Regions from separate parts of the Homo sapiens genome. Here regions 1 and 3 are each linked to region 2. The links are contacts of gene promoters, found by promoter capture Hi-C in human tissues and cell types (Jung and others, 2019). All regions are on one chromosome and are shown on one strand. The core of a region is centred on a gene start or on the middle of the fragment in contact, and the rest is flanking DNA. Distances in the headings are between cores, read along the strand shown.

Evidence for each region. The method cuts DNA at HindIII sites, captures the fragments that hold promoters and counts their contacts. A contact is called where the count stands out against the background at its distance.
Region 1: a fragment that was not itself captured here is called in contact with the fragment with the promoter of CPSF4L in region 2 in 4 of the 25 tissues and cell types used here (hippocampus, mesendoderm cells, spleen and 1 more).
Region 3: a contact is called between a fragment that was not itself captured here and the fragment with the promoter of CPSF4L in region 2, in 1 of the 25 tissues and cell types used here (liver).

Annotation. Positions count from the first base shown.
Region 1 is chr17:73,226,753-73,229,452 of GRCh38, forward strand. It overlaps VCF1 (VCP nuclear cofactor family member 1), which reads right to left. Exons shown (of 4, transcript NM_001098832.2): 2 at 413-512. Among named protein-coding and RNA genes, the nearest start is that of VCF1, 4.3 kb to the right of the region's middle. RefSeq lists an enhancer at 2,228-2,277. The HindIII fragment of the contact is 4,223 bases long and covers 1-2,700 here.
Region 2 is chr17:73,260,591-73,263,484 of GRCh38, forward strand. It overlaps CPSF4L (cleavage and polyadenylation specific factor 4 like), which reads right to left and starts at 1,290. Exons shown (of 6, transcript NM_001129885.1): 1 at 1,126-1,290; 2 at 343-393. The coding sequence starts at 1,228. The HindIII fragment of the contact is 16,084 bases long and covers 1-2,894 here.
Region 3 is chr17:73,206,032-73,208,731 of GRCh38, forward strand. It overlaps COG1 (component of oligomeric golgi complex 1), which reads left to right. Exons shown (of 14, transcript NM_018714.3): 11 at 123-231; 12 at 677-786; 13 at 1,150-1,225; 14 at 2,283-2,476. The coding sequence ends at 2,420. VCF1 (VCP nuclear cofactor family member 1) reads right to left here. Exons shown (of 4, transcript NM_001098832.2): 4 at 1,334-2,700. Among named protein-coding and RNA genes, the nearest start is that of COG1, 14 kb to the left of the region's middle. The HindIII fragment of the contact is 8,479 bases long and covers 1-2,700 here.

The DNA.
Region 1 (2,700 bases), core at 61-2,560, 34 kb before region 2:
TACCTTACATATTTTACATGCTTAAAGTTTCTCTTAAAAGGCATTTGAATTGAAGCAACAAAATATGTTTATCTTAAGGACAATTCATGGTTTATAAACTACCAGAAAAGAAGTTCGCTGCTGAAATACAAAACAGTGAGTTCAAACATAGGCTTTCAAAAAGCCACGAAATTTCTAACAAATACAAATGAGTGTGTACATATATGACTATGTGCACATATGTACTGTTTTGCTGGGGACAGGGTACACAGCTTCCTCAAAGGGACCCTGATTTGGAAACAGAAAGGTTAAACCAGTATAATCAACTAAGGTCATTTTAAATTACTGTTTAAGTAAATTTAATTACACAGCAGATACTAGGTTATTTAACTCAAGCAGTGAAAACAACAGACTATGTGACCACACTTCCTACCTCTGTGTCCCAGGAATCCTGAAAGACAGGGTTTCTGCTACTTCTTTTGGTCTGGGGGGGAAGATGGTTGTCTTCTTCGTTGCCATTCCTTCTCCTTTTCCTGAAATTAAATCACAAGGAGAAAAAAAAAAAAACCCAAACAACCGATGTTTTGGACACTTGAATTGCAAACCATAACAACATATAAATTTGCCCTCTGGCCTGAGAAAACATAATTCAGCATATGATATCCCAATAGGTTATCAGTTGGAAGTACAGCATCACTGGACACTAAGAGCAAAAATACAAGACAGCAGCAGCGAGGTCAAGCTTAAGTTAGTAAAACTCATTTCTAAAAAGAAGCTTAACAATTTTAAATGTCTGTTGGGACTGAAACAAGAACAGGAAGAGGTTAATGACTAAGCTTTCAACCTCTAACCTAATTAAGGTTTTCTTCTTTTTACACTCCCTGAAATTAGGATTCCGAGTTACCTAATTGTACTCCCTTCCATATGACAACATTTGATATAAGAGTGGCTGCCTTTGCCTATTTGCCCTGAAAACCCTTATAAAAGTACCTCTTGGTCACATTCACCTGCTTATTCTGGCAACACTAGCCGGTATTATGATATAACAATTACTTCACTAGATTGTTACTATGAGATGATAGCATAAGCTGCTTAAAATTTCCAGGTTTAAAGAAAAATCACACATCTTTCTTAGGCAAGTGTTCTCGGACATGCAAGAAAGACCAAATTTGCATGTACTCTATTTAAGAATTATGTGCTGTCAAAACGATTTCTGAACCTGTTAGAAAACAGAAATAAATTAAAGGAGGTATAATTTTCAGTCAAATTGCCCGGAACTGTACTGTCCAATACGGTAGCCACTAGCCACATATGGTTATTTACATTTAAATTAACTAAAATTAACCATCCAGTTCCTAGGTCACAGCTGCCCTGTTTCTAGTGCTCAGTGGCCACGTGTAGCTAGTGGCTACTGCACTGACCAGCACAGATAAAGGACATTTCCGTCACTGCAGAACGTTCTCCGGAGCAGCACAGGCTAGAGGTCTGTATGTACATGGCAGCAGCACCTATTACAAAACCCTTGAAGTTTCAGCTTTCTATAGTTAAGAGACAAAAGGCTAGTGTGGACACACAGCTCTTGGAAAGCATGTACATTTGGAGGATATAGTGTCTTCTAAATAATTATACACTTTCTATGAGAGTAGGGTGGCTTACAGTGGCAGGCCTTTAATCCTAAAGGTTTTGAGTTGAGGTTTGAATATTAGAGAAAATAAATGATCACCCTAAGCTCACTTCTCTGTACTCTGCAACATTCTGAATAGGTCTAACTTTAATAATGAGTATGGATCCCAGCTTAAGTTTGGAATAATAAAGAGTGTGTGGTTCTGATAAAGCTTCAACCATCCTGCACTGGGCTATGTAATTTACTTCATTCTAAGACATTTCTGCTCCCCACCTTTCTCTTAGGAGATCAGATCTTAGCTGCACATTACTTTGAAGTAGTTGGAGGTTAAAAAAAAATAGATGAATATCAGGTTTTAATAATCATTAAATGGGTGTGCTTTTATCATAAATTTGAACCAAGAAACTGCTAATTTCATCCTAATATGATCAGGGAATTTGAGTGGGAGTGTTCTGCAGAGGCAAAGCAATGTCTGCTGGGAGGCCAGTCGACACCCAAAGAGAAAGTCATTGAGTAAGTAGCAGCTGCTGGTCCTCACACACCCATTTTATCAGCGTGCCAACAGCTGACTGGGCTTTGGGCTGCTGAGTCACTCTAACCAAACTTAGGAGCCTGATCAAAATTTGCTATCTCCTCATTTATAATGGGGGATAGATCTTTCCAGGGACAAGACTATGAATGTCAAGGAGGTTGCATGGCAGAGGGACTGTAAGAACAAAAAAAGATGAGATGATTTTGTGGATTTCAACTAATCTCTGGGAGAGTCACATGAAATATCCCTGCCTCATAAATTACTTGATCTCTCAAGGCACCAGAATAATCTCTTTGGCCTGTTGGTAGCCTTCTCCTCTGGATGGTACCAGATTAAGAAAGAGTCCTACCTGCTCTTCATTTGCCTTTTTCTAGGCTCTTAGCAGATCTCATCCTTGAAACATTCTTCTTTCAACAATGGTGTTAACAACTGGCAAGATTACAGCTTCATGCTCATCCCTATCAGTTCAATCAATCAGATTACAATTTTTGGCATTAATGCCACAGACCAGGTTATGATTTTAGCAGGCACCCCTATAACTGATTATATTCTTCCCTAACCATCT
Region 2 (2,894 bases), core at 40-2,539:
ACTCCATCTCTACTAAAAATGCAAAAATTAGCCGGGCTTGGTGGCATGCACCTGTAGTTCCAGTTACTCGGGAGGCTGAGGAAGGAGAATCGCTTGAACCCAGGAGGCAGAGGTTGCAGTGAGTTGAGATCACGCCAGATCACTCTAGCCTGGGCAACAGAGCGAGATTCCATCTAAAAATAAATAAATAAAATAAAAATAAAATTCCGTTCCATCCCAATTTTCCCTCCCCAGGTGCAAATTCGACACCCTATCCCAGGCCAGGCAGAGCCCCTGCTGGGTGTAGCTCAGACAGACCCTACACTCACCCAGCTTGGGGCCCAGGCCTGTCTGCTAACTCACCTTTCTCACAGAGCCCTTTAGTGAAGAAGTTGCACACAGCTGAGGCCGACTCTGGAAGGAGAAGAGGGAACGGAGAAGGTAGCTTCCCCAGAGGCTGCAGCTGTTCCGGAAGCCTCCACCTCCATCGGCATGTCCCACCTAGACCTCCCCCAGGCTCTGGCCTATGGGATCCCAAATCTGGGCCCTGTAGAGGTTAACCTGCAGAGCCAGCCAGCAGACCTCAACCCTTAACCCCCCAACTCTGAAACAGAGGAGCTCGAGGGGCTCAAGCCTGGCCCAGGAGCTCGGGAGGCCAGTGTGGCTTCTCTCAATTCACCGTCTCTCTGTGCCTCTCTTTCTCAGTCTGGAAAATGGGTTGCCCCGAAGCCACAGAAGAGAGAGACAGAGAAGGGGCGGTCGCATCAGGGAGTTGAGCAGAGAGGCCTGTAGAGAAGGAAGGGGGAGGGAGGCTGGGCGTGGTGGCTCATGCCTGTAATCCCAGCACTTTGGGAGGCCAAGGCGGGCGGATCACGAGGTCAGGAGATTGAGACCATCCTGGCTAACATGGTGAAACCCGGTCTCTACTAAAAATACAAAAAATCAGCTGGGCGTGGTGGCGGGCGCCTGTAGTCCCAGCTCCTCGGGAGGCTGAGGCAGGAGAATGGCGTGAACCCAGGAGGCAGAGCTTGCAATGAGCCGAGATTGTGCCACTACACTCCAGCCTGGGCTACAGAGCGAGACTCCGTCTCAAAGAAAAAAAAACAGAGAAGGTAGGGGAGGGAAAGTGGCCCCACCCTCACTCACTGTCCATGCCCTGGAAAGGCAGGAGCCCAGTGCCCTTCTGCATCTCGACATCCTTCTCGAAGGCAAAGGTGAACCGCTCTAGCCCCGCAATGACCTCTTGCATCTTCCGTCTCCTGCTGGGGCTGCGGAAGCTGCTGGAACCCAGGCAGGTGGGCCCAATATAGCTCATCAGAGGCCCTTAAGGGGCCAGCGCCCAATGCCTCCCCCTTCACCCCAGGGTGCCAGTGGCCAGGTGACTGCAGGGGACGCTCCAGCCTGGGCTGTACAGGAGCAGGGCCCAGCTGCCTCACCCGGCCCACCCAGTGCAGGGGCAGACACCCCAGGGCCCCTCACCCCCACACTGTGTACACAAGGCTCACTCGGATAGGGAGGGATTCGCAGAGCCCCACAAACTGCTTATCTTTGCATGTTACCGAACACAAACGTGGCGTGCACACAGACATTACCAAACCTGGGCTCATACTTTGTCCATGAAGACACAGCCACAGGTTAGCAAAGAGTTGCACAAACCAACCGCAGCAAGGCTGTTATTCTGCCAGAGCTGGGGGTGGTGGGGGTTTGCAGAGGGAGGGAGCCGTCCCACCTCCCCGCTTCTTCCCATGAGGGAAGGGGTCTCCCTCTGGGGCCCCTGACACCCCTTTTCTGGCCTGAGTGACAAGCCCCGAGTGAGCTCTTCGTGGGAGACAGGGAAAAAGGAATGAAGAGGAGAGGAACTGAAACAGTTGGATGAATGGCGCTTTGTTTACCTCGCACACAATCGCCAGCTTGGCGGGAGGGCGGAACCGACCAAGGCCAGGGCGGCCTCCCAGCCAGGATTCCACAGGGCCACCCAGTGCCACCCCACCCCTGAGAAAGTGCTTTATAAATGAAATCTCTATGCAAATGTTGTTTTATTATTATTACACCACCCCTGCCTGCAGGGCTGGGGACATCTGACAATGCTTTCAAAGGAGCATGTTAGGGCTCTAATTAGACCAGGTTCCCCCTCCCCCTGCTCTGGCCCCAAACTGGCCTTGCCTCTAACTAGAGCTGCTGTTCTCAGTCACATTGGCTTTTAATGCCCATAGAACCAGAACCCATACGCCCTCCTTTCTGGGTGCCCAAACCCAGCAGGGAGAGGTGGGCAGCCCCGCAGGCTCTCAGCTGGGCCAACATGAACTAGCCTGCTGGCTGTTGTTCCCCGTGGCTGTTGCTCCTAGATCTGTTCTTTTGAACTCCAGATCAGAAAAGAAAATAGCTGGAGAGATAGACACCTGGAGCCGAGGTGGGACTGGGAGGAGCAGGGACGAGATCCAAGAGTTTCCAGAAGCTCAGGCCTCTGACTGCATCCTGGGAGAGGCAGAGGGACCCAGCTCCAGGGCTAGAGGGTGGGGCCAAGGGGGTCCCTGGGGTAGAAACCCTGGCTTCTCTTGGCCTTAGTTGTATGCGTTGATTAGTAGTCCCAAGAATGCATTCATCTGTCAACACAGGCTCATTAAAGGCTCACAGAAGCCTGGCAGCGCAGGCAGGACTGATGAGGGAATCAAAGCCCAGGGAGGCCAAGACCACATGGTTTGGGAGGCGCTATGGATGGGGTTCACATCTAGGTCTCTTGATGACTTCCTTCCCTAAACATCCCTGAGCATCTCTGCACTAGGGCCACGTCCCTATCCTCAGAGATGGCCCCATCAAGGAGGGGACATTAGCCATTCACACAATAATGCGATGGAGGCATGAGGGGCCCAGCAGGGCAGGAAGGGGTAGCAGGCAGAGCTCTCTCAATGGAGAGT
Region 3 (2,700 bases), core at 201-2,700, 54 kb before region 2:
TACTAAGCCAGCAACTAAGTAGAATAAAACCCAACTCCAAGATTTCTACAGCAGTAGGATATCATAAGATTGTTTTTGATCCTAAAAAATGTGGACAGTAATGATCCTAATCCTTTTCTCAGAATTGAGAAAGTGACTGACCACCTGGAAGCCCTCATTGATCCATTTGACCTGGACGTTTTCACGCCACACCTCAACAGCAACCTTCATCGCCTGGTGCAGCGAACTTCTGTGAGTCAAATCAAAAACATGCTTAGTGCGAACGAAGCGATACAGGCTCAAATAACAAAATTAACCTGCTCAAGCACGTAATACTCCAGGATGCAGCATAGGGAGGGGAATAAGACACAAATAGCCGAGTGTAGTTATAAGGACTGAAAGAGGATTAGATAAAATCTCACACACTGAGGCAACCAAGATTTGGCCCCTTAAGTTGTAAATAAGGATTATTACAGTTTTATCCAGGCCTCAGAAAGAGGAATAAAAACTCCCTGCCTCTCAGATTCTGACCTGTGGGCAGTGATAAAAAGTAATCGTGAAGCATAAATGCACTCAGAACATTCCCCAAAATGACAGTTAGAAATACGGTAGCGATGGGTGACTAACCTTTTTTTTTTTTTTTTTGCCTTTCTTTTACCTGCACAATGAAACCTCTGCTCCACCTCTTGTCTGCCAGGTTCTGTTTGGATTGGTGACTGGTACAGAGAATCAGCTCGCCCCCCGGAGCAGTACGTTCAACTCCCAAGAACCCCATAACATCCTGCCACTGGCATCCAGTCAGATCAGGTAAAGGCTGCCAAGAGGCTTCTGCGGGGCACTTCGGGAGGCCAAGGTGGACGGATCACGTCAGGAGATCGAGACCATCCTGGCTAACATGGTGAAACCCTGTCTCTACTAAAAAAAATACAAAAAATTAGCTGGCCTGGTGGCAGGTGCCTATAGTCCCAGCTATTCAGGAGGCTGAGGCAGGAGAATGGCGTGAACCCAGGAGGCGGAGCTTGCAGTGAGCCGAGATTGCGCCACTGCACTCCAGCCTGGGCGACAGAACGAGACTCTGTCTCAAAAAAAAAAAAAAAAAAAAAATGAGGCTTCTGCTGGGCCCCAGAGCTGCCTGTTTGTGCTACTAAATTCTTTCCTCTTGTTTTGGAGGTTTGGACTTCTCCCACTGAGCATGACAAGCACTCGAAAGGCTAAATCAACCAGAAACATCGAAACAAAAGCTCAGGTTGGTGCCAAGAGCAAGAGGCTCATCCGTGGATGGGTCCCCACCTCCCACCGAGCCACCCATGATCAGCTCCCTTTTAAATAACTGATTAAGAACTGAATGACAAAATGCACTAATGCTGCTTTTAATGGCGGCGCAATAGAGAAGTACAAGGTTTTACTAGCTTGAGCTACTAGAAGGTGTAAAAGATGCCCGCTGACACTACCAAGTAGCCTCTTAATAGAAATGTAGAAAATATACAGGACAGGGTGGAGATGAGCTCTTGAATTTAGTAGGGTGAAAGAGTTAACTGCCAACCCGGCACTATCATTGTACTTGTTTGGAGAAAATCTGTTTTGTTCTGGTGATGATGGTTTTATCTTCCCTTTTAGTTGGGTGGGAAGTAACAGAAAATTTGTTTCCCCAAAAGTTTGACATTTTCTTGTTAATACACGTTTCATTTCAGTACGATGCCAACTGTTAAGCCTGCAGGAATCCTCCTGGGTATTTCTGAATTGTGCTGTGTGCATGTGTGTTTGAAAGCTCAAACAGCTTGTCTTCTTACAGCATCGAGTTGTTTGCTTTATTGTTAGACACAATATTAGCAGTGTATCCTTTCCGTATTCCCTACCATCGAACCCATTAAGATCTAAAATCCTTGTCAAGTATCTGGCTTTAAAAGTTGGGAGATGGTAGTTTAAAAAAAAAAAAAGCTCTTGCAAAAACCATCCAGTCCCTAAGCATGGGCTATGTTGCAGCCTCTTCCAGAACAGTTTCCACTGCAGTGATCTTTCAGTTCTGCCCACATTAGGTTAGCAGGCTGTGGAGAGAAGTGCCTGTGTCTACCCTTTTCCCAAGACAGTCCTCATTTCCAAATTCTAGTTTTGTCACAAAGGCTCATGCTGTTCCGTGTCCTCTTCAAATCTGGACCGACAGCAAAGTCCTCTGACTAGAGCCATCGTGCTTCTCAGCTCCGCTTGTGTGTGCCGTGTGGACTCCGAGTGGCGTCGCGCGGAGGGCGAGTGGGCAGGAGGGCTCAGGCCAACTCTAAGGCACTTTTCTCTACATCCAATGGCAGGTTGTCCCCCCGGCACGCTCCACAGCTGGTGACCCGACAGTTCCTGGCTCCTTGTTCAGACAGCTTGTCAGTGAAGAAGACAACACGTCTGCACCTTCATTATTCAAACTTGGCTGGCTCTCTAGTATGACTAAGTAACATGGCAACACATCTGTCTCTCCCTAAATAAATACTACCACATTATTTCTTCTAAAGGTGCCTCTGCTCATCTGATTCTCAGCCACACCAATCTTTCCAGTTTCACTGATGGAATGTGGCCCCCTAGTTACTGTTGGGGGTTACTTTAAGCATCAAGTTAATCCTTGTCCCAAAATTTCACAATACTTGTTGCTTTAGACATCAGTTCAGGTAGCTTACATTTTATCAGCGTTCAACAACACCTTAATTGTTGACACTACAAGGTGGAATTGTCAATGAG